Regions from separate parts of the Homo sapiens genome. Here all the other regions are linked to region 6. The links are contacts of gene promoters, found by promoter capture Hi-C in blood cells and fetal thymus (Javierre and others, 2016). All regions are on one chromosome and are shown on one strand. The core of a region is centred on a gene start or on the middle of the fragment in contact, and the rest is flanking DNA. Distances in the headings are between cores, read along the strand shown. Region 1 overlaps PDK1-AS1 (PDK1 and ITGA6 antisense RNA 1). Region 2 overlaps DYNC1I2 (dynein cytoplasmic 1 intermediate chain 2). Region 3 overlaps DYNC1I2 (dynein cytoplasmic 1 intermediate chain 2). Region 4 has its middle 9.2 kb from the start of DYNC1I2. Region 5 overlaps PDK1-AS1 (PDK1 and ITGA6 antisense RNA 1). Region 6 holds the start of DLX2 (distal-less homeobox 2). Region 7 has its middle 81 kb from the start of CYBRD1.

Evidence for each region. The method cuts DNA at HindIII sites, captures the fragments that hold promoters and counts their contacts. A CHiCAGO score of 5 or more calls a contact.
Region 1: a contact is called between a fragment that was not itself captured here and the fragment with the promoter of DLX2 in region 6, in 1 of 17 cell types (fetal thymus). The highest score is 5.1, in fetal thymus.
Region 2: a fragment that was not itself captured here is called in contact with the fragment with the promoter of DLX2 in region 6 in 2 of 17 cell types (erythroblasts and megakaryocytes); the score reaches 10.6 in erythroblasts.
Region 3: a fragment that was not itself captured here is called in contact with the fragment with the promoter of DLX2 in region 6 in 6 of 17 cell types (megakaryocytes, erythroblasts, M0 macrophages and 3 more); the score reaches 15.8 in megakaryocytes.
Region 4: a contact is called between a fragment that was not itself captured here and the fragment with the promoter of DLX2 in region 6, in 1 of 17 cell types (erythroblasts). The highest score is 6.2, in erythroblasts.
Region 5: a fragment that was not itself captured here is called in contact with the fragment with the promoter of DLX2 in region 6 in 1 of 17 cell types (non-activated CD4 T cells); the score reaches 6.3 in non-activated CD4 T cells.
Region 7: a fragment that was not itself captured here is called in contact with the fragment with the promoter of DLX2 in region 6 in 5 of 17 cell types (megakaryocytes, M0 macrophages, monocytes and 2 more); the score reaches 8.3 in megakaryocytes.

Annotation. Positions count from the first base shown.
Region 1 is chr2:172,550,639-172,554,049 of GRCh38, forward strand. The region is part of intron 1 of PDK1-AS1 (PDK1 and ITGA6 antisense RNA 1); the gene reads right to left. Among named protein-coding and RNA genes, the nearest start is that of PDK1, 3.7 kb to the right of the region's middle. RefSeq lists an enhancer at 2,183-2,477 and a silencer at 2,183-2,477. The HindIII fragment of the contact is 1,167 bases long and covers 688-1,854 here.
Region 2 is chr2:171,694,622-171,697,661 of GRCh38, forward strand. All of the region lies in intron 3 of DYNC1I2 (dynein cytoplasmic 1 intermediate chain 2), which reads left to right. Among named protein-coding and RNA genes, the nearest start is that of DYNC1I2, 8.7 kb to the left of the region's middle. The HindIII fragment of the contact is 3,141 bases long and covers 126-3,040 here.
Region 3 is chr2:171,713,413-171,716,646 of GRCh38, forward strand. DYNC1I2 (dynein cytoplasmic 1 intermediate chain 2) reads left to right here. Exons shown (of 18, transcript NM_001378.3): 7 at 1,916-2,031. Among named protein-coding and RNA genes, the nearest start is that of DYNC1I2, 28 kb to the left of the region's middle. The HindIII fragment of the contact is 889 bases long and covers 1,450-2,338 here.
Region 4 is chr2:171,676,520-171,679,974 of GRCh38, forward strand. No RefSeq gene overlaps it. Among named protein-coding and RNA genes, the nearest start is that of DYNC1I2, 9.2 kb to the right of the region's middle. The HindIII fragment of the contact is 9,909 bases long and covers 1-3,455 here.
Region 5 is chr2:172,508,427-172,511,752 of GRCh38, forward strand. All of the region lies in intron 1 of PDK1-AS1 (PDK1 and ITGA6 antisense RNA 1), which reads right to left. Among named protein-coding and RNA genes, the nearest start is that of ITGA6-AS1, 44 kb to the left of the region's middle. The HindIII fragment of the contact is 2,843 bases long and covers 476-3,318 here.
Region 6 is chr2:172,101,018-172,104,510 of GRCh38, forward strand. It overlaps DLX2 (distal-less homeobox 2), which reads right to left and starts at 1,883. Exons shown (of 3, transcript NM_004405.4): 1 at 1,122-1,883; 2 at 445-629. The coding sequence starts at 1,521. It overlaps DLX2-DT (DLX2 divergent transcript), which reads left to right and starts at 1,989. Exons shown (of 5, transcript NR_126376.1): 1 at 1,989-2,251; 2 at 2,921-3,015. RefSeq lists a silencer at 1,685-1,884. The HindIII fragment of the contact is 7,057 bases long and covers 299-3,493 here.
Region 7 is chr2:171,601,475-171,604,953 of GRCh38, forward strand. No RefSeq gene overlaps it. Among named protein-coding and RNA genes, the nearest start is that of CYBRD1, 81 kb to the left of the region's middle. The HindIII fragment of the contact is 1,229 bases long and covers 655-1,883 here.

The DNA of each region.
Region 1 (3,411 bases), core at 21-2,520, 450 kb after region 6:
GGACCTTTATCTGTGTAATAAGAATCTTGGTCTCCACAACCCCTTGTCTTAATCCAGACACTCCTTTCAATTGATCCTAGGTCTTGAGATAGTAACTTAACTCTTTCAACCAATTGCCAGTCAGAAAATCTTTGACTCTCCCTATAACCTGGAAGCCCCCTCCTGCCACAAGTTTCCCAATCCCCCTATATTACGTCTTAAAGTTGTCCTGCCTTTTCAGACCAAAGCAGTGTACGCTTTACATGTACTGAGTGATGTCTGCCTGCAACTTCTGTTCCCCTAAAACTGTACACAATCAAGCTATGACCCGACCACCTTGGGCACATGTTTTCAGGACCTCTTGGGACTGTGCCTCAGGCCTTGGTCACTCACATTTGGCTCGGAATAAATCTCTTAAAATATTTTACAGAGTTTGAGTCTTTTTTTTAAATCAACAGTTCAAATAAATTTTTAAAACTTTTAATGTGCCCAAATTTATCTTTTAACATTACCAGTCTCAGTTTGTGAAAGTCTAGAGTTCTCCCTGTCCATGTCTGTAAATTCTTGAGGCTCATAGTCTCATTTATAGTACCCCCCACCCCACCACCACTCAGACTCTTTGTGTGCAAAGTCTATCTCCATTGCCACAAACTCTCATAAAAAAAATTCATCCTTTCCTCCAATTTTCACAAAAGCACAACACATAAAAGCTTCAGTATCCAATAATCTCTCTTTTTTTGCAAACTTTACTGAAGGTTTGGGTTATAAGGAGTGCTCACATTGTGAACAGTCTTTGCAATCTTCTGCCTCCTCCCCTTCCCCTTTGCTCTACAAAGTGAATTCCTCTCCTTGCTTCCTGTAAAGCTGTTCTGAGCCTTCCCTACAGATCTCTCCTTCCACTCCATCAGCATTTCAAAGCACTTACTCCAGATAAAAACTATGTTTGTGCTAAATAAATCCTGGTGAATAGGATGCCCTCATATCACTACACAAGTAATTACCTGAATCAAAGTACCCTTTAAAGAAAGAAGGCAAATGTATATGGAGAAAAATTATGCTTCAGTGGAATATTACGTATTGTTTAGAGCACAACTTTTCAGGGTATCTGATTCCAATTCACTGTCTTTGAGCTATTTTACAACTCTGTAAATTGCAGATAAATGGTAACAACGCACATAATTCTTACCTATACATGTGCAAATAAATTCTGTCAGGTAGAAGGGCAACCCTCCCTGATTCCCAAGGAAAGAGCCAGTTTTACAGCCTTTGCAAATTTTTCTGAATTCCTGTTTTTTCACTTCTCCTTTGAACTGGCTATAATATCTTTACTGGTTCCCTCATTTAATTAATGTATTAAATAAAATTTTTGACACATGTTCATTTTATAGCTGCATGAGAGTCATTATTTTACCTTTTTTGAAAATTATCTTTCCAGCATATCAAAAAGGGTTCTAGGGCAGGAAATGATAGCACACTCAAAAGGGAAATTGATTAATTAATTAATGAAGGGACTATTTACAGGAGTGTGGGCAGAATTAAACCTCCAGGGCTGGTGAGCACCCAATCAGCAACAGAGAAAAATTAGTACTATCTCTATGGATACTGGACAAGGGTAGGAAGCTATGGCCACACTTAGAGGAACACAAATTATAGCTTGGAAGAAAAGAAGCAGGGGGAAAAAATATGACTTTTCTTTCCTTTTGTCTTCTGAACCTCATGAAGCCAGAGGGTACTGGGGACAAGGTGACACAGTCTAGCTTGTTTTGTATTGCTTTTTCCATTCCTTTCAGTCACATCAGTCCAACATGGATCACAAATTCTCAGTGAATTTACAGGGGCTGGCTCATGTCTGCTATGTAAAAATTTTTTTATAGAAGCTTACAGTATGATTACACTTTATATCTACATGTGTGTCTTAGTCTGTTAGTGGTGCTGTAACAAAATACAGTCTGGATAATTTATAAATGACAGAAATTAGTTTTCTTACAGTTCTAGAGGCTGTGAAGTTCAAGATCAAGATGCCGGAACTCAGTGTCTCATAAGGGCTTTCTTGCTGTGTCCTCATGTAACCATCCAATAGGTTTTTCTTGCCTGCTGACCAGATAGAGCCAATTTATCAAGACAAAGAGTTTAGTGCATGTGGAGCTGGCTAAACAGAAGATGAGTTTTATTACTACTCAAATTAACCTCCTGAAAATTCAGAGGCTAGGGTTTTTTTATAGTTTGGCAGACAGCAGGCTATAGAATGGGGAATGCTGATTGGTTGGGTCAGGAATAAAATTATAGGGAGTCGAAGCTGTCATCTTATGCTGAGTCAGTTTCTGGAGGGGGCCACAAGACCAGATGAGTCATTTTACTTATCTGTGTGGTTCCAGCTGGTCCACTGGAATTCAGGATTTGAAAAATAACTCAAACACCAATGTTAGGTTTTATAATAGCAATGTTATCTATAGGAGCAATTGTGGAGGTTGGTGATCTTGTGGACTCTGGCTGCATGACTCCTGAGCTATAATTTCTAATCTTCTAGTTAATTTGTTAGTTTACTTATTTTTTGAGACAAGGTCTCGCTCTGTCACACAGGCAGAAATGCAGTGGCAGGATCTTGGCTCACTGCAAACTACACCTCCTGGGCTCAAGTGATGCTCCCCACGAAGCACTACAGGCAAGTGCCACCATGCCCAGCTAATTTTGTTCATTTTTTGTAGAGACAAGGTCTATGTTGCCCAGGCTGGTCTCGAACTCCTGGACTTACACAATCCTCCCATTTTGGCCTCCCAAAGTGCTGGGATTACAGGCATGAGCCATTGTGCCCTGCCTAATCTGTTAGTTTAACAAAGGTGGTCTGGTCCCCAGGAAAGCTGGGGATTTGTTTCATGGAAGAGCTCTTATCATCTTTGTTTCAAAGTTTGTAATCTAAATTCCTCCCAAAGTTAGTTTGGCCTATGCCCAGGAATAAACAAGGGCAGCTTGGAAGTGAGAAGCAAGATGGAGTTGGTTAGGTCAGATCTCTTTCACTGTCAAAATTTTCTCACTGTTATAATTTTTCAAAGGCAGTTTCACTCACATGGTAGAAGAGATGGTAGGAACTGACTCACCCCCTCACGCCCTTTTATAAGGCTCTGCCCTCATGACTTAATTCTCTCCTAAAGGCTCCACCTCTTAATACTATCACATTGATAATTAAGTTTCAACATAGAAATTTTAGGGGACACATTCAGACCATAACAACAGAGAAGTAATACAGCTGTTTACTAAAGTCCTCAAAGGTTCTCTCCAGTTTCTGGACTCTAAGTCTTTGACTAAGAAGCAAAAGTTGACACCATTTAATATGTACTTTTATATGCACATTCTCTGTATATTGGTTGAAGCATGGTGAATATACTTTGGAGAAAGGAAAAAGCACTTTATACAACAGTTGATTCCTTCCTGAGG
Region 2 (3,040 bases), core at 446-2,945, 410 kb before region 6:
ACTCCAGTGTGGGCAACAGGAGTGAAACTCCGTCTCAAAAAAAAAGAAAAGAGGTTTAATTGGCTCATGGCTCTGCAAGCTTTACAGGAAGTATGTTGCTGGCTTCTTGTGGCAAGGCCTCAGGAAGCTTCTAATCATGGCAGAAGGCAAAGGGGCGTCAGCATGTCTCATGCAGTGAGCAAGAGCAAGAGGTGGGGGGAGGTGCCACACAGTTTTAAACAAAACCGTGAGGGATCCGCCTCCATGACCCAAACATCTCCCACTAGGCCCCACTTCCAACACTGGGGATTACATCTCAACAAGAGATTTGGAGGGGATGTCCAAACTGTATCAATGGCCCATCTCCATCATTAATTCTTGAAAGACCATTCTTTAGGGTTTGTGTATGTGTCCCTCATTTCTCATCTCTAATTCCATTCTCATTCCCACTAATGCATTAAGTGACCACTTTTGCAGTTTTTGTTTGTTTATTTGTTTGGTTTTTGGTTTTTTTTTTGAGACGGAGTCTTGCCCTGTCGCCCAGGCTGTAGTGCAATCACGTGATCTCAGCTCACTGCAACCTCCACCTCCCGAGTTTAAGCGATTCTCCTGCCTCAGCCTCCCAAGTAGCTGGGATTACAGGCACGTGCCACCACACCTGACTAATTTTTTGTATCTTTAGTAGAGACGGGCTTTCACCACGTTGGCCAGGCTGGTCTCGAACTCCTGACCTCATGATCCGCCTTCTTCGGCCTCCCAAAGTGCTTGGATTACAGGTGTTAGCCACCATGCCCGGCCCACTTTTGAATTTTTAACATACATCCTTCAGATTATCCTCTGTTTTTCAAGGTTTCACATATCTCTGTGTATATATACTTTATATATATAAATGGCATAGTGCTGTATGTCTTTTGTTTATTCCATGTTGCTATATACGTATTTAGTCATTTATTTCTAATATATAATATCCTATTATGTACCACATTTTACTTATCCATTCCCCCAGTGCTATGCACTCAGTTTCCTTTTGTCTCTTTGCTTTACTATCATAAGCAACACTGCAAAAAATATGTGTTTTTTCCCTTGAGGACTGTGGAATACTTTCTCTGGGGTGTATCCCCAAGAATTTACTTGCTATGTTATTGTATATAAGACTTAGCTTAATTAGGTTCTGCGTGTCACTCTCCAGAATGGCTACAAAGTTTACCCGCCCGCTACCAGTGCATGAAAAAGTAACTGCTTTACCATATTCACATGATGACTGGATATTATCCAGCTTTCTAATTTTTGCTAACTTGATGAGTATAAAGTGGTACACCAAAATGTTTTAATATACATTTATCTGATTACAGTGAGGTTGACCACCTCTTTATATATCTTTTAACCATTCAAGTTTTCCCTTCTGTGAACTGCATATTCATGTCCTTCTCCCCATTTACTATGATTGAGGTTCTTTATCTTCTGATGTATAGGCATTCTTTGTGTATTTTGTATATTTTAGGGAGGACTTTTGTCTGTTTTAGTCTTTTTAAAAACCCTTCTAATCTGTTAACTGCTTATAATATTCTTCATTGAACAGAATCCTCTATTTTGATATGATCAAATCCTTCATTTTGATATGATCAAATCTAGCAATTACAGGCTAAGTATTCCTAATCCAAAAATTCAGCATTCAAAATGCCCCAAAATCTGAAACACTTTAAGCACCAACATGACACTCAAAAGAAATACTGATTAGAGAATTTCAGATTTCAGATTTTTAAGTTAGGATACTGAACTGCTAGGTATAATGCAAATAGTCAAAAATCCAAAATAATCTGTCACCTTTGGTCCCAAACATTTTGGGTAAGGGATACTCAACCTGTATAACCCTTTTTTGTGTGCTTTTGGTCTTTTTTAAAAAGAAATTGTTTCCTACATTGTGGATGCAAATATATTCTTCTATGTTTTTCCTATTAATTTTATAGTTTTACCCTTCACATGTAGATATTTGGGTTATATTTTTAAAAATAGTATGAGGTAGGGATCCAACCTAATTTTTCTCTATATAGGTAGCTAATTTTCTCAGTGCCATTTGTTAGTCTATCTTTTCCCCCACTGAAGTCCGATGCCAACTTTGTCATACAGTAAATTCCCATATATTTATGGGCATTTCTGGGCTCTCTATTTTCACTATGAATCTATTTGTTTGGTTCTACACAACCCAGTTTTAATTACTGCACCTTTGTATTATATTCTAATTTCTGATACAGAAAATCACCCCCTTTGTTCCTTTTACAAAATAGTCCTAGGTTCACAAACATTTTTCTTTCCTCAAGAAATTTAGTTTGTTTCCCTCCAAAGTGTTGCTGTACCATACATACATTGCATTGCTATATGTTTTTATTTTTCTTAATTATTATTATTATTATTATTTTTGAGACAAGGTCTTGCTCTGTCACCTCGGCTGGAATGCAGTGGTGCAACCATGGCTTGTTATAGCCTCAACCTCCCAGGCTCAAGCGATCCTCTCACCTCAGCCTCCCAAGTAGCTGGGAACATAGGTGCACACCACCATGCCCAACTAATTTTTTTGTTTTGTTTTTGTTTTTGTTTTTTTTTATAGAGATGGGGTCTCACTATGTTGCCAGGGCTGGCTTTGAACTCCTGGGCTCAAAGCGATCCTCCTGCCTTGGCCTCCCAAGGTGCTGGGATTACAGGCATGAGCCACTACACCCTTCCTAATTTTTAAAAATCTTGAATATTCTCCACACACATACTACTTTTTGCCTCATGATATCTACTTGTTGAAGAGGGTGGGCCAATTGGTTTGTAGACTGTCTCCCCTCCTGGGTTTGTCTGATGGCATTCTCACATTTAGCTTTTATCCCTTATATTTCCTTTAAACTGGAAGTTAGATTTAAAAGCTCAATTTTGATCTAATTCGAACTGTGTGTGGTGGTTCACACCTGTCATCCCATTACTTTGGGATATGAGAGAGAAAGGAAGAACGAAGAAAGATATTTGGGAGGCTGAGGTAGGTGGATCACTTGAGCCCAGGAGTTCAAGACTAGCGTGGGCA
Region 3 (3,234 bases), core at 644-3,143, 390 kb before region 6:
TTCCTTTTATTTTTGTTTTGTTTTTTGCTTTTTTTTTTGGCATATTTTCTTAGTGAAACGTTAGAAAACTAATGCTTTATAGTTTCTGTATGTCTCTTTTTTAGAGTTTTAAAACTTGTTCTTTTAGAAGTTAGTGTTGTAAGCTGTATGTATGGTTTTTTAATTTTGTTGACATAGAGATAAGATTATCCATCCATTCATTCATTCAGTTATTTATTCTAGATTCTAATGCAAATTATAAATGTTTGCTGCTGCCATTTTGCCTGACTCAGATAGCCCTTTTCCCCTGATAATTTACAGCTTCAAAAACATATGAATATACCTTTTGGAATTGTGTCTAAAGTAAGGTAAATAAGCCTTGATTTGAGGCATGTAAGAAAAATATATGAGTTTCTTGTACTTGAACTGGAAGCCCTCTGTAGTGGCCACACTGAGGCTTCCCCCTCCTGCCTCCCATTGCTTCCTTATTTTCAGTAAAAGTGGCTTTTGGATAAGTGAGGTATTACTTCCCTACCCACCTCCTCCTATAAAATCTTGGAATATTTCGTTTGTTTAGTATTATGGTTTTTTCTGTTAGACTCTGTATGCATTCAAGTTGGTAATTGATTCCTAATATTGTTGGCTTGACGATTTTTTTCCAGCTATGTGAGTGATTTACTTTTTATATAATTTGCATCTTAAAAATCAGAATATAAAGTTTCTTATTTCAAATTTTATTCTTAGACTTCTAGATTACTTCAGATTACTTAAATTGTCCACTTAATTCTTTGACTATACTTTTTTTTTCCCTTTCTTTTTTATTTCTAAACTAGAAAAGACATTAAAAAATTGTTATGGCCCACATTTTGGAACATTAATTTTTAAAATGTACTAATTTTATTATACTTTATAGTACTTTGTTATGCTTTATTAGATTGTATAGGACTTGGATTTAGTTACTAAATAGAACTGAAAAGAATATTTATATAAGAAAAAAGTTATATTACCAGCGATAGCCTGCTTTATATTCTGAAAGTTGCAGCAGTGTCTTTATTGTATATCCTTTTAAGGCAGCTTCATCACTGAGAACTTTTTTGGGAGTCTGGAAGCGTACTTTATTTGGTTTAGGATTTAAACATCTAATAAAACCAATAAAAGATCTCCCAGATAGCTAATAAAATATATTTTTCTTTTGGTTCATTTTCCTCAGCCACAGCTCTCTTCCATTGTCAAAAAAGAATGTATACCCTGTATTTCTAAACAGAAGTGACTTTAGTAGATTTATGGTATTCAAAAGATCTGTCACTTTAGTCTAAGTGTAGAATATCTGGACCTTAGTTTCTCCATAATGTGAATCAAGGACAGTATTGATCATGCAGAGATTAGAGATTTAAAAGTTTTAAATATTTCATTTTAAAGTCCAAATTGATAGTGTAATTCTCAATTTCTGCCAAATATAAGTAGAAAAAAAGCTTTCAACAGAAACCTGTTTTTCAGTCGTAAAGCTGAATTCTCCTAGTGGCACAATCAGCTAAATGTGGTCTGAGTGATATCTAGTCTGATTCTTAAAAAAAAGTCCAGAAAGAACCATATCCCAGCTGAAACCAGTTCTTACGACAACCTTATTCAGTGGTCCACTCTGAAGTTCCTATTCTCTTACTTCATTATTGCCCGCACATTTGTTCTAAAAAAATGAAATTACTTGCCTTTTTAAAATGAAAATAAAAACACTGAATGATTCAGAAATATCTTTTGCTTTTGCTACCTTCTCATTCTTTTGCTAAAATAAAGCCAATTTATTGTTAATCTAAAATTTCTTGAATAAAATGGATTGAAATTACAATGTTGGGTGCAAATGACTGTTTAATTCTTAATTTTTGAAAATAACATGGTTTGATGTAGTTAAAATTGTGTTGTTTGTATTTACTTAATTTAGACGAGGACCTATTAAACTTGGAATGGCTAAAATCACGCAAGTCGACTTTCCTCCTCGAGAAATTGTCACGTATACAAAGGAAACTCAGACTCCAGTTATGGCTCAACCCAAAGAAGGTGAATATCTATCCTTAGTATAATTGTCATTGAGCACCTATGTTAAATACATAGATTCTTTTTTTCTTCCTTTGATTTTTGTTTTGTTTCTTTTTTGCTTTTGTGTTTTGGCATGTTTTCTTAGGGAAACATGAGAAAACTAATGCTTTACAGTTTCTGTATTTATGTCTTCATTTTTTCGAGTTTTAAAACTTATTAGAAGTTAACGTTGTAAGCTGTATGTGTGGTTTCTTAATTTTGTTGACATAAATTTAAGTCTTTCAGCCCTTATTTTGTCATTAATGTATACTGCTTTTAGAAGCCAAAAAGCTTAAGAATTTTCTGTTTCTGTCATTGAGCATAATTCTTCCCCAAAAGAGAGTGGGTCCCATAGTAAACAAAGTCATGTAAATTATTTCTGAAAAGCATACTGTACCCTGATGTTATTCATACTAATGAACAAATCTAGACTTAATTCTTAAATTTTCTCTTTTATGATATAGGGGCTCTATTTTGTTGATTAGTTAGTAGCCTGTAATTTGTGTATAGTATGGGGACGTATGCACAGACCTATTGAATGTGGAGACCCTTTGGTTCTTAAACCAGAAAGCATTACAAATAGCTAACGATTCAAGCATAAAGTACTACGATCTCATTTTCCCAGTGAGGCTAATGAATTTATATCATACAAAAAAAAAAGATTTATGTGAGATCCCTAATACACTTCACAGTGTCTTTTCTGAAGCTTTTGGGGCCATATATATATTAGAATTCCAAGTTTTTCAGATTATGTAAAAGTAATAAAATATATGTATTATATGTTAACACTCTAGTAGTATTTTGGGCATTAATATTTTGGCAGCAAAACATATGAACATACTAAGTGAGATAAGTAATGATTATAAATAGCTTTACCTCTGACTTTACCATGTCAGAGTTTACCACCAAATGAGTTATGGATTTTAGAGCTGTTAACAATTTTGGAATAGAAATTTTATCAGATGTTTAAATTAATGTATTTTTAAATTTTTAATTAAATTACCATGTTTCTCCATTAAGGAAAAACAAAAGTTATATTCATTGCAGAAAGCCAGGAAATACAGGTAAGCAAAAGTGAGGAGAAATCCTTGAAATCCCTGTCTACTACCAAAGAAAATCTTTAAATTTTCATATTTGCCTAAACCTAAAAAAAAGTTAGGATTGTGGCCGGACGTGGTGGCTCAC
Region 4 (3,455 bases), core at 795-3,294, 420 kb before region 6:
GGTGGATCACGAGGTCAGGAGATCGAGACCATCCTGGCTAACATGGTGAAACCCCGTCTCTACTAAAAATACAAAAAAATTAGCCGGGCATGGTAGCGGGCGCCTGTAGTCCCAGCTACTCGGGAGGCTGAGGCAGGAGAATGGCGTGAACCTGGGAGGCGGAGCTTGCAGTGAGCCAAGATCGCGTCACTGCACTCCAGCCTGGGCAAGAGCGAGACTCTGTCTCAAAATAAATAAATAAATAAATAAATAAATAAATAAATAAATAAATAAATGGTGAAACAAATTCTTATGCTGCTCAGAACTCTTATGTGTCCCATACCCTAAATTAGGCATGGAATCCTACTGCTTCTCCTTGTAAATATTCCTCAAATCTATTCCCAATTCTCTCATTGTCTTCTTTTATCTCATTGTTTCTCACTTAAATTATTAATTGGTCTCCCTACCTCTGGTCTAGATTCCCCACTCATCCATCTTCTATACAACTACCAAAAATATATTTTTTCAATTTTTTACTTTTACTTTTTAATTTTGTAGGTACATAGTAGGTATATTTATTTATGGGGTACACAAGATATTTTGATACAGTCACGCAATGTATAATTATTACATCAGGGTAAATGGTAACCTCAACCATTTATCCTTTGTGTTATAAAACAATCCAATTTATACTCTTTTAGTCATTTTTAAATGTACAATTAAATTATTTTTTACTACAGTCACCCCGTTGTGCTATCAAATGCTAGTTCTTTTCATTCTTTTTAACCATTTTTTTAATACCCATTAACCATTCCCACCTCTCCCCTACCCTCCCACAACCCTTCCTAGCCTCCGGTAATAATTCTATTCTCTATCTCCATGAGTTCAATTGTTTTGATTTTTAGATCCCACAAATAAGCGAGAACATGCGATGTTTGTCTTTCTATGCCTGGGTTATTTCACTTAACATAATGACCTCCAGTTCCATCCATGTTGTTGCAAATGACAGGATCTCATTCTTTTTTATGGCTGAATTGTATTTCATTGAGTATAAGTACCACATTTTTATCCATTCATCTGTTGGTTGATTCCAAATCTTAGCTTTTGTGAATAGCGCTACAGTAAACGTGAGAGAACAGATATCACAAACATTCCTATACACGAACAACAGACAAGCAGAGAGCCAAATCATGAATGAAATCCCATTCACAATTGCCACAAAGAGAATAAAATACCTAGGAATACAGCTAACAAGGGAAATGAAGGACCTCTTCAAGGAGAACTACAAACCACTGCTCAAGGAAATCAGAGAGAACACAAACAGATGGAAAAACAATCCATGTAGATTCTAATATCCAGAATCTACAAGAAACAAACCTGCACATCCTGCACATATACACTAGAAATTTAAAATAAAATAATTAAATTTTGATCTTTATGCCCAAATTGTGTCATTGATCATTAGTGCTCAACACTATAGTTGAATACAATAGTTCGACTGTTAATATTTGTTGTTATAGTATCATAAGTATTATACTTGGGATGCCCTATAACCTGTCAACAGGACAAAGAAATAAATCCAAAGGAATCAAATTTTTTAAAATACCACTTTCTCTTGGCTTTTTTGTTTTGTTTTGTTTGGGAGACAGGGTTTCGCTCTGTGGCCCAGGCTAGAGTGCAGTGGTACAATCTCGGCCCACTGCAACCTCCACCTCCCGGGTTCAAATGATTCTCCTGCCTCAGTCTCCCGAGTAGCTGGGACTACAGGCACACGCCACCACATCCAGCTAATTTATTGTACTTTTTAGTAGAGACAGGGTTTTGCCATGTTGGCCAGGTTGGCCTCAAACTCCTGACCTCAAGTGATCCGCCCAATTCAGCCTCCCAAAGTGCTGGGATTACAGGCATGAACCACTGCACCCAGCCACTCTTGGCTTTTCTTCTACCTACTTTTCTCCATTACTTTTTTAATATTCACTTCTTCTCACCTATTCCTTGAATGCTGGTGTTCTCCAGGATTCCAAAGAGTTATCTTCTCCTCTTTTTATGTACATAATCCCAAATCATTGTTATTCATATCCATCTCCAACTATTATTTATCCATATGTATATGACTCTCAAATCTACATTTCCAGCCCAGCATCTCTCTTGAACTCCAGATCCATATATGCACCTTCCTACTGTATATCCGCAACTTAATGTCCACTAGCAACTAAAGTCAAACATTTCTCAAACCAAGTCACTATTTTTCCTTTCCTTGTATATTCTCTAATGGCATCCAGTAAGCCAAGATATTGTCTTCTATTGGAGAAGCACTTCCTCTTTCCTTATCTTAGGTTTTTTTGTAGTGGGATCTTTCCAGAGTACCACCCTTGGCCTCTCTCCATCCCCTCCCTTACTCCTCCCTGCAGGAGGAGGAGAGAATTATCTCATTAGTGAATTTGGGAGAAAAAACCTTAGTACATGCAGCTTCCTACTTTCTCTCTACTTTATTATTTCCTTTGGCATCTGTGCACCTAAAGAAAGTGCCCATGCATTGCTGTCTGTTCTCTGCTATGGGTTTCATACAAGCAGGCCCTCCAAGGAGAACTGCCTGAGTTACTTGTCCCTGCCTCTGTCTCTCTGTCTCTGTCTCTTTCTCTCTCTCAAATAGTTCTAAATTTGGCTAGAGAAAATGCAGTGTTACATATGTACCCCATCAAATACAATGCCTTTAAAGAATTCTAAAGTCCTTCATCTCCCTCTACTTCCTTATGTCTAATCAGTTCACAATAAAGGGCAGTGCTGGATCATTGCTCAGGGGGCCCAATTAAAGGATTCTAACTATTATTAGAATTAATTAGAAACATGGTGCCAATTAACTCAGGGTTTCCCATGCAACTTCTTATGAGTGGCAAAATGTACATTGGTCTCATTCCTGGAAAATATTGTCCTTGAATAGTAACAAACAAAACACACACACACACACACACACACACACACACACACACACACACACTCCTTACAGGCATTGTTCCAATCCCCATTGAGTGTTTTGTGACATGTAGCTACCTTGAGATGAGCTATTATTTACCTGAAGCCAGTAGCTCCAGTCAGCTGAAACTGAAAACTTAACAATGTATGGTTGCCTACCGGGAACAAAGTGCTTACTTCTCAGAATTAAACCACCTGTAACATGTCATCTGATACCTTCCCTTTGCCCCTCCAGATGCACTTTCACCCTTCTCCACCCTGATTTCGGCCTCAGGAGGCTGACCTGGGTGAATGGTCTCCTGTGCCTACTGGCTTCCAGTAGGGTTTGGCCAACGGGAAGCCCCAGGAGGAGATCAGAGTGACATCAGGGTCACTTATTTCCTTGGTTTCCTCCCTATGAGGTCACCTTGAGCTGCCTGGGCTCAAGATACCTCACCCTGTAAAATGTTCTTGAGTCAGGTTTCTGTTACTCTCTCTCCCTTTCTTCAGGCCTTGTGGGTGTT
Region 5 (3,326 bases), core at 647-3,146, 410 kb after region 6:
CCAGGCACCACAAAGGGCAAAACTAACCAGGTAATAGTTGATGATTACACCAGAGTTGAGGGAGTCAAGTGGTCAAGTGCAATTTTTGTAGCAGTCAGCAAAGCATAAGTGCCTCAATCTTCTCTTGCCCTGGAGGCATCTCTCAGTTATGCTGCCTGTGCTGGGGTCATGGAAACAGTTCCCTGCTAGGAGAGGTCAGATAAATTTCTTACTCTTCAGCCTTCTAAAACGTGCCAAAAATCTCAAGAAATTACAGTGTCAGAATGTGCTACCGTTGTTATCTCAAAGCCTAGCAATTTAAGTTTTCAGTTCACCAACAATCAGTAAGTGGATTTAAGTGAGTGTTCTGTTAAGATCCTGTCATTGTGAGAGGGATGTGATTTAATAATTATTTTCCAGTTGGAAGTAAACAGATGTTTAGGGATGTTAGGCTCTGGGGATATACGTAAGACACTGGCTCTGACCTTTTATAGGAAGCTTATCTGAAACTACAGATGGTATTGACAAGCATAAGTGAATTCACTTTTTATAGGTAGCAGAATTTAAAACCCTAAGATATCAATGATTGACACATAAATTCAATACCTGGCCAGGCGTGGAGGTTCACGCCTGTAATCCCAGGACTTTGGGAGGCCGAGGCAGGCAGATCACATAAGGTCAGGAGTTCGAGACTAGCCTGACTGACATGGTGAAACCCCGTTTCTACTAAATACAAAAAATGAGCCGGGTGTGGTGGTGGCACATGGCTATAATCCCAGCTACTTGGGACGCTGAGGCAGGAGAATCGCTTGAACTGGGAGGCAGAGGTTGCAGTGAGCCAAGACTGCGCCACTGCAGTCCAGCCTGGGCAACAAAAGCAAAACTCTGTCTCAAAAAAAAAAATAAAGTCAATACCTGAACCTTTGTGGGCAGAACTTGCCCCCAGAACAACCCCATTCCCAGAAAATTTAGAGTCATTCTTAAGCAGGTCTACACATTTAAATCACCAAAGAAATACATTTATTAAAATCCCGATGGCTGGACAATCTGCCACACTGACTACATGAGAATCTGAGTGAGACCCAGAAATTAGCGCTGCTTAAAGCTCCCCAGCTGACTCGTAAAGTGCAGCCAGGATTGAGAACTACTTTAGAGATTATTGGATGTTGTGAATATTTATCAAAATAATATGCTCACTGTGTGGAATGCCTCGTTCCTGTTTGTGGTACTTCCACTGCACCAGTAACAGGAGCTGAGAAGCTAGAGGTGCATTTGCTATAGGCAGGGAGGCAGCTGAGCGGTGCATAAGGGCATGTCTCTGGAGCCACGCTGCAGGTGTGAATTAGCTTCTCCTCTTAGAACATAACCTTGGGTGAGTTACGGATATCTCTGTGCCCAGTTTCTTGGCCTGTAAGATAAGTGCTCACTCAGAGGTTCTTTTTTTTTTTTTTTTTTTTTTTTTTTGAGATGGAGTCTGGCTCCATCGAGACGGAGTTTTACTCTTGCTGCCCAGGCTGGAGTGCAATGGCACGATCTTGGCTCAGTGCAACCTCTGCCTTCTGGGTTCAAGCAATTCTCCTGTATCAGCCTCCCAAGCAGCTGGGATTATAGGCGCCCGCCACCATGCATGGCTAATTTTTTGTATTTTTAGTAGAGACGGGGTTTCGCCATGTTGGCCAGGCTGGTGTTGAATTCCTGACCTCAGATGATCCACCCCTGCTTCGGCATGCCAAAGTGCTGGGATTACAGGTGTGAGCCACCATACCCAGCCCAGAGGTTCTTGTAAAGAGAAAATTGGACCATCTGGAAGTGCTTACTAGTTACTTTTATACTTACCCTTGTTTATTATATAGAACCATAAATCTTAAAAAGGGAAGGAAGCATGGAAATCTAGTTCTACTTCCTCGTTTCACAGATGGGGAGACACGGTTTATTTTTATTGTCACGGGAACCTTTTGTCTCCTCATTCTTCAGTGTCTACCAACTTAAGTCTTACTAGTGGGTGTTATAACTACAAAAAAAAAATACGATGAACCTCTTAAAGTCCTTATCAACATAGATCATTCTGAACAACGACAAGAGTGACCTTATTTCTATGTTAAATTCTGTCTCAACCCTTAATACAGTGACCATAATGCAGTCTTCGGTTGGGGTCAGAAAGATGACATGTTAAGATAATCAACAAAGCATCTTGAAATCGCTAGGTATTGAATCTTTGTGTTTTTCTCCCCGCTGACATGGAAGAGTGTGAAAAGAGCAGATTCTCTTTTTGAACCTTTTCTCAGAGTTCTTTACACACCATCGATTTCTTTGGTTTCCTTTAGTGGGAAGGCAAGCCACAGTTTTACTGCTTATTACCTTTACTGCTGTGCAGAAGAGGAAATGCTCACAGAGCTCATCTTGCACCTGAGTTACACCATGTGTGTTAGAACGGAGTTTGTCACTGGAAGAACAAATTTGAAAACTCCTGCCTCCCACATGTCACAATAATGCATGGACTGAAAGACTATGTAAAGGCAAAAAACATACATATACATGCATTCTTCCATAGGAAGATTGGGGGACTGCCTGATGCCAAGGTGTCCTCAAATTGCTGATGGAACTGAAGTTCTGGGGTTCTTACCTGAGGAAGCCACTGGTGGTCAGGAAGTCTCAATTAGAGAAGTTAAGAGCAGTCTTTCTCAAAATTTAACATGCCTAAGACTCACCTGAGGATCTTGTTGATTCAGGTTCTGATTTAAACAGTCTAGGAAACAGCCTGAGAGTCTACATTTCTAACAACCTCCAGGTGTTGCAATACTACTGATCTATGGATTACTCTTTGGGTGTCAAGGGTCTCTAGAGCCAGTCTTTATTCAAGTCCCTATTGTGTCACTTTTTACTGTATGACCTGGGCAAGTTTAAATGCCTGATGCCTTAATTCCTTCACCTGTAAAATGGCATAAGGTATAATGGTATAAGGAATAAGATTATAACCTAGGCTTACACTGTCTTATGTCTTTCTACACAACTTCCAAACCCCTAACATCCTCAAATGTGTGGATAAGGACTGACTGGGGTGCAGTTAAGTCTGTTTATCTAAATATATAGCTTTCACCGTCTTGACAGGATAGCTGACATTTGTTGTAGGCTACTCTTACAGGCCATGCTTTTAAGATTCCTGCCCCGTGAGAAGGAAAATCCCATGACAGTGAATAGCATTACAACGGAATGGGAAACAATGTGCCAGTTCTAGTAGCTGACCCACAGAAGCAGTGACATGTTGATCTGGTTATAAAGACTTATCTAAATCAGTAATGAAACAAACACATTGAACAGGTTCAGGATGACTTAAAGAGAAGCTTTTG
Region 6 (3,493 bases), core at 633-3,132:
AAGAAGGCAGAGAAAAACCGCTGGCTAGCGGTGGGCAGCGAGCGCCCTGGGGAGATAAGAGGATCACGGGCGGCGGCCTTCGAGGCTCTGCCGGTTCCTGCTCCCTGGGGAGGTAATTGCCAAAAGGCCAGGACTGCTGGTGTACGTGCACTGTGATGATGGTGACAGCGGGAGGGTGAGGAGGGCCAGTTATTTCACCCGCTTAATCAGTAGCGAGAGGTACGGGATTTCTGTCCACCCGGTCCCTTTCCTTCCCTCCCACGGCGGCCCCTTGGGGGTTTCCAGCTTTGGGCCTAGAAGCTTACTTAGGGCCGCTCGAGGCGCAGGCCTGGAAATCCTTAAAAGTACTTAAAATGAACTTTAAAAAGCATTGTCCTAAACCCGCCTGCTTCCCAGCCATCTCAGGCCCGCGCTCTCCTCGCCCCTGCAGGGCGCGAGCCCCACCTGAGTCTGGGTGAGGCCCAGAGAGGCCGCCAGCTCGGCTCGCTCCGGCAAGGCCAAGTATTGAGTCTTTTGGAAACGCCGCTGAAGAGCCGCCAGCTGGAAACTGGAGTAGATGGTGCGGGGTTTCCGGACTTTCTTTGGCTTCCCGTTCACTATCCGAATTTCAGGCTCAAGGTCCTCCTTCTCTGCAACGATAAAGAATCGTAAGAACAGCGCAACCCAGGGGTCCTGGAGTTCCCGCCCTCCTAGAGGGCCCGGCGGGGGGGACTTGGCTTGAGCAAAGAGGTGGGTGCACTGAACTGTGGCGCCACGGGCAGGCGCAACTTCGCAGCGTGCGATCGGAGCCGCCACCGACCCCGGGAGCTGTACCCTCCAGGGAAGGGGGAGACAAGTGCACACCCAAGAGAAAGAAGCTGGTGGCAAGGAGATGCCCTTATGAGGCAGGCAGAGCACGCCCACTTGGCTCTTGAGGCCACCAGGTCCTACCAAAGGAGAGAGGGACGTAACCGGCGACCTGCGGCAGATTGGAGGCTGGGGAGGGTAAAGGGCACAAGCGGGCGGTGAGCAGGCAGCGTGAAAATCCAGAGCTTTCGAAGGCCCCCCGCCCCAAACACGTTTACCCATCCATCCCATTAACTAGACCGACTCGGCACTCTTGACTTCAGCGTTATGCATACCAGGCTCGTTGTTGGCTGGGGACGAACTGGTTCCATAGGGAGCGTAGGAGGTGTAGGCGGCGGTGTAGCCCAGGTCATAGCTGCTCTTGGCGGAGTAAGGGACGTTGTTGAGGCCGCTGGCTTGGTACTGGTAGGAACCCATGTGCGCGTAGGGCGAGCCCCCGCCGCCGCCGCCGCCCGCCGGGTGCTGCTGGTTGGTGTAGTAGCTGCTGTCGGTGGCGGTGGACACCGGAAGGGTGGGCGACTCCTGGGGCTTGTGGAGGCTGCTGCTGCTGCTGCTGTTGCCACCCGGGCCGGCGCCGCCGCCGCTCGGGGGCTGCTGGTGCTGGTGGTACGTGCTGGAGGCGGCGATCTGGGTCGAGTGCATATCAGCCACTAGACTGTCAAAGACTCCAGTCATCCTGGCCCGAGACGGGAAAGAGCAGAGGTGGCGGGCGTGCGGGGGAAGCCAGGCGCCTCCTCTGTCTCTCCCGGTCCCCTCCAGCAGCCAATGTAATTACGGGGGTGGTGGTGGGGAAACAAGAAAGGAGGCAACCGTCTAGGCGCCTCCTCCTCCGGGGGAGGCGATCACCGTGCGCTGCTCGGGACAGCTGCCTCTGGTCGCATCCTCTTTCGGCCTCTGGGCCCGCTCGGCTCCTTGCCCAGCGCGAGCGCGGGCTCTGGCGGGGGGCGGGCAGTGGAGGGGGCAGGGGTGGCTGGGCCGGGTCGGGGCTCTGGGAGGCGGGAGCAGGTGAGCGGCCCCGAGCGGCTTTACGATTGTCTGCCAGGCGGGCTCCTGAAGTGTGGGCATTTAACACTCGTCACGTGAGCGCTGGCGACGTCACCTAGCAACAGCCAATCAGAAGCAAACGGCCGCGGAGCTCCGGGAACGCCCGGCCAAGGGGCGGGCGTCACATGGTGGGCGCTGTGGCTGCGGCTGCGGCTGCAGCGGCCCCAGGTGCAAACAGACTGCCGCCGAATGTGAGCAGCGAGGCGAGGGGTCGAGGTAGCGAGGAGTCAGGGTGGCCCGCAGCAGGAAGACAGAAGGCGTGGAGACAGACTGGCGTTTTGCCTCAGAGGAAGAAGTGGGGTCCCCTCTCCCATTCTGTGAGCAAGTGCCAGTTCCAGTGATTCGTACTTTCATGTCCGAGGTCAGTTTTCAAACACATTAAAGTACATCGGTGCCCAGAGTCCAGCCAGCTCTATCTTCACTTTTCCTCGAAGTGTCTGGCATTTATTCTTGTTAGCCACTCGGCACTTGACATAATCAATTGATTTAATTATCCACAAACCACGTGTAATGCTCGCTTCTTAACCAATCCGCAGGGATATTAGGACAATTAATCATATAATATTGAAACGGGTTTTCCTTGTTGCTTCAAAGAGAAGCTACATAAACTTAAAGGTATTATTGCTAATAGTATATTTGAAACCACTTTCCCTGGTACTTTCCCGACACGCGAGACTCTGAGTAATTATATACGTTTGATAAGTAAATGACACCCTGAAAGCCATCCCGAGGACTTCCTCCTTCGGGTGGAAAGGTTCACCAGTTGTCCTTGAAAATTCGATGCTCTTGCGAAAAAGGAAATAGGATAATAGGTGAGATTATAGATTTATCAAGTAGATACTAGATTTATCACTTCTCTGTAAATTTACAACAAATATAAAAAGTTTTATCTGGTTTGTTGAATTTAATCCTGTTTTACAGTTTTGCATTTTAGGACCCTGTTCTACCCTATCATTGCAATTTTTTTCTTTTCCCTCTGTTTTTTAAAAAATCGGAAATGGTGACTTCCTCTGTCTCTATAACCTTGTAGTTGGAAACCTTGGCCCGACGGTGATGGACTGCACGACTTGCTGGACTCCCAAGTCCGAAGTTCCTGCGGCAGCGCTTGCTTTGTGGCGCCACCTGGTGGGCAGTGTGCGAGGTTGCGGGGGGCGGGGTAGACGGTCTAATCACGCCCAGGCGCCAGCCTCTGAAACCCCCCAAAAGAACAAAATAGTAATTAAAAGCCACAAAATTGTGCTAGTGCGCACCATCTGAAGCACCCTTTCCTAAAGACATAACATGTCGCTGAAAGAACTTGTTAAAACAACTGTCTGATAGAAAACAAGTTGATACCTTCAAAAATATGATCTTTGGTCTTCTTCCCCATAAAAAGCAAGTGTGTAATTAAAACTCCAGCATTCACACAGAGAAATAATGAGATAGGTAATGCGCCTTTAAGTCTACCTGGATTTAGTTCCCAGCTTTTTTTTGGTTAAGGAAGGCCCCTAGATGGAAAGCGCCAGCTTATGAGAAACGTTGGAGGTGGAGCTCACCTCCACCCACCTGCATTGCTTTATGCGGTTCTCTGCCTACTTTGTGGGCCTCAGCTGCAAAACCAACC
Region 7 (3,479 bases), core at 19-2,518, 500 kb before region 6:
CTTTGGGAGTCCAAGATGGGAGGATCACTTGAGGCCAGGAGTTCAGGAGCAGCCTGGTCAAGATGGTGAGACCCTATCTCTATTTTAAAAATTAAAAGATACGTCGGCACAGTGGCTCACACCTGTAATCCCAGCACTTTGGGAGGCAGAGGTGGGTGGATCACCTGAGGTCAGGAGTTCAAGACCATCCTGGCCAACATGGTCAAATCCCATCTCTACTAATAATACAAAAATTAGCCAGGCGTGGTGACACGTGCCTGTAATCCCAGTTACTCAGGAGGCTGAAGCAGGAGAATTGCTGGAACCTGGGAGGCGGAGGTTGCAGTGAGCTGAGATCACTCCACTGCACTCCAGCCTGGGCGACTAAGGGAGACTCCATCTCGAAAATAAAAATAAAAGAAAGTCTCCTCCTTCTGTTGTTCTCACACACTTCGCGTTGGCATCTTCCCTTCCACACACATTCTAAACTCCAAAGGGCCTTGATGATGAGGAGGCTCTTTGAAGAAAATCTCTAGTCAGCCCAAGCCTAACCCTATCCCTGCAAAAATCATGTTGTGGTTGGAAGTGTGGATTACTGGTAAATATTGCTGTGTGGAGAAGATTACAAAGTTTTTTTTACCTGTCAGAAAGTAAAAATATAAGCTTAACCCTGTAAGCTTATATTTTAAACTTTAAACTCTATAAACTCCCTGTCAGCTAGAAATGTTCTAGAAAACATTATTTAAAAGCTGGGATACTCCCTAGAGAAAAATTACCTTTACTGCCATGTTAGGCAAAAACATCTGATGAGGCACGGTGTTCTGTGTAAAAACTGAGGTGGTCCCAAACATGGACCAATAGTTAAATCATTTATTTCTTAATATAATACCCTTTGCCTGGTCCACAAAGTAAATTAACTTGTAAATCTAATGAGTACATGAAAATCTCAGCAAGCTCATCTGTGATCCACTCTCCGTCCATCTTCCAGCCAATCCCTCAGCTGCCTGAGGAGGGTCTCAGCCCCGGAACCCTCAGGTCCCTTCTCACCTCTTCTCCTCTAATTGACCTGCCCTCCCCTCTTCCTTCTCCTACTTCCTTCTCATCCTCAGATTTGAGAGGCGGGAGGGGATGGGAGACTGATTATGACTTGTTAGAGGGTGACGGGTCCTGGCCTTTTTCCTTTGTTTGTTCCTGAATCAGGAGACAATGATCTGCTACAAAGGGCAGGGGCCTCTTCATGGATTAGATGAACACGATCATTTCCCATTGTTTTCTTTACCATCTCACTTTCACATGTAACGTACTCATATGCACAACTATTTTTAAATAATAACCATTTGCTTATTGACTTTGTAAATAATACCTGCTTGTTGAAATAAAATAAAGCCAAGTACAGAAAATTATAAAGACAAAAAACACCTGAAATCCCGTCATCCAGAGACAGCCACATTCATATTTTGGCAGCCATCTTTCCTGATTTTTTTTTTTTTTTTTGAGACGGGGTCTTTCCTGATATTTCTATATACAATCCATGTGCTTTAACATTCTTCAAATCAACCTTGGCTAGAAAAAACAAAGGGTAGGGGTTACTGATTTAGGACACATATGTCCATGTGTCTTGCCTTATTGCTAACAAGCCACTTAGAAAGAACTTTTCCAGAAATTCGAATTGCCCCTTTTAGATTCCCCATAATTTATTTTGTTCCTCTTTTCCCCTCTTTCCTGAGCCACCTCCTCCAGAGGCACCTGGGTCACTGTCGGAAAACATATCAGAGCTGGTTTCTTTCTCTTGTTTCTTTCACGTTGTGCTTCAGGGACTCCAAGGCCACCTTCTCTTTTTCCTTTAGAGCAGTATTTTTGTTTTTATGCCAAGACGTTTTCCAACTTAGAGGTCATTTGTGGGAAGCTTAAAGGGAAAAAGCGTCAGTTTCGTGTTTATGTAAGAATTTGAACACCTGATATTTTTCTTGGGAGCCTTTAGCATATTGTGGAACTTGTGGATACCTGTGATATGCAAGAGGAGAACTTCTCTGCATCTTCACCTCTATAAATATGTAAAATAAATATTTGAAAGCCAGGAAGTGACTTTGACTTAATTGTCTTCCCCTATTTTTTTTTTTTTTTTTGAGACAGAGTCTTGCTCTGTCGCCCAGGCTGGAGTGCAGTGGCGCAATCTCGGTTCACTGCAAGCTCCGCCTCCCGGGTTCACGCCATTCTCCTGCCTCAGCCTCCCGAGTAGCTGAGATTACAGGCACCTGCCACCACACCTGGCTAATTTTTTGTATTTTTAGTAGAGACAGGATTTCACTGTGTTAGCCAGGGTGGTCTCGATCTCCTGACCTCGTGATCCACCCACCTCGGCCTCCCAAAGTGCTGGGATTATAGGCATGAGCCACCGCACCCGGCCTGTCTTCCCCTAGTTTTAAATTATGAAAAACAAAATCATTACAAATATCAATGGTTCTTAAATGTTAGGATAAGTGATATTCATGAGAGGATGGCTTATTTTGTTTTTCTTTGTTTGTTTTTTTTTTTTTTTTTTAGACAGTCTCATTCTGTCGCCCAGGCTGGAGTGCAGTGACATGATCTCAACTCACTGCAATCTCCACCTCCCAGGTTCAAGGGATTCTCCTGCCTCAGCCTCCTGAGTAGCCAGGACTACAGGTTTGTGCCACCACGCCTGGCTAATTCTTGTATTTTTAGTAGAGATGGAGTTTCACTATGTTGTCCAGGCTGGTCTCCAACTCCTGACCTCAGGTGATCTGCCCGCCTCAGCCTCCCAAAGTGCTGGGATTACAGTCATGAGCCACTGTACCCAGCCAGAGGGGGTTACTCAATAAGCACATTCTTAGACCTGAACCCTAGAAACCCAATCAAGTAGTCTGGGGTGGGCCCCAGAATCTGCATCTTTAACAAGCACACCAGAGAATTTTGAGGAAGTGGCCGTCTTTTGTGGCCTTGAATTATGCCCCCTAGTAAGATATGCTGAAGTCCTAAGCCCCGGTACCACTGAATGAGACCTTATTTGGAAAAAGGGTCTTTGCAGATGTAATCTAGTTAAAATGAGGTTATATTGGATTAGGGTGGGCTCTAAATTAAATGACTGGTATAGATATAAAAAGAAAGAGATTTGAAGACAAAGGCACATATAAAAAGGCCATGTGAAGATGTACTTATAGATTGGAGTTATGCTGCCACAAGCCAAGGAACACCAAAGACTGCCAGCAACCTCCAGGTGCTAACAGAGGCAAGGAGGGATTCTTCTCTAGAACCTTCAGAGGGAGCCTGTCCCACCTGACACCTTGATTTCAGACTTCCAGCTTCTAGAACTTTGAGAGAATAAATTTCTGTTATTTTATTATTTTATTTTATTTATTTTTGAGATGGAGTCTTACTCTGTTGCCCAGGCTAGAGTGCAGTGGCATGATCTCAGCTCACTGCAACCTTTGCCTCCTGGGTTCAAGCGATTCTCCTGCCTCAACCTCCCAAGTAGCTGGGAT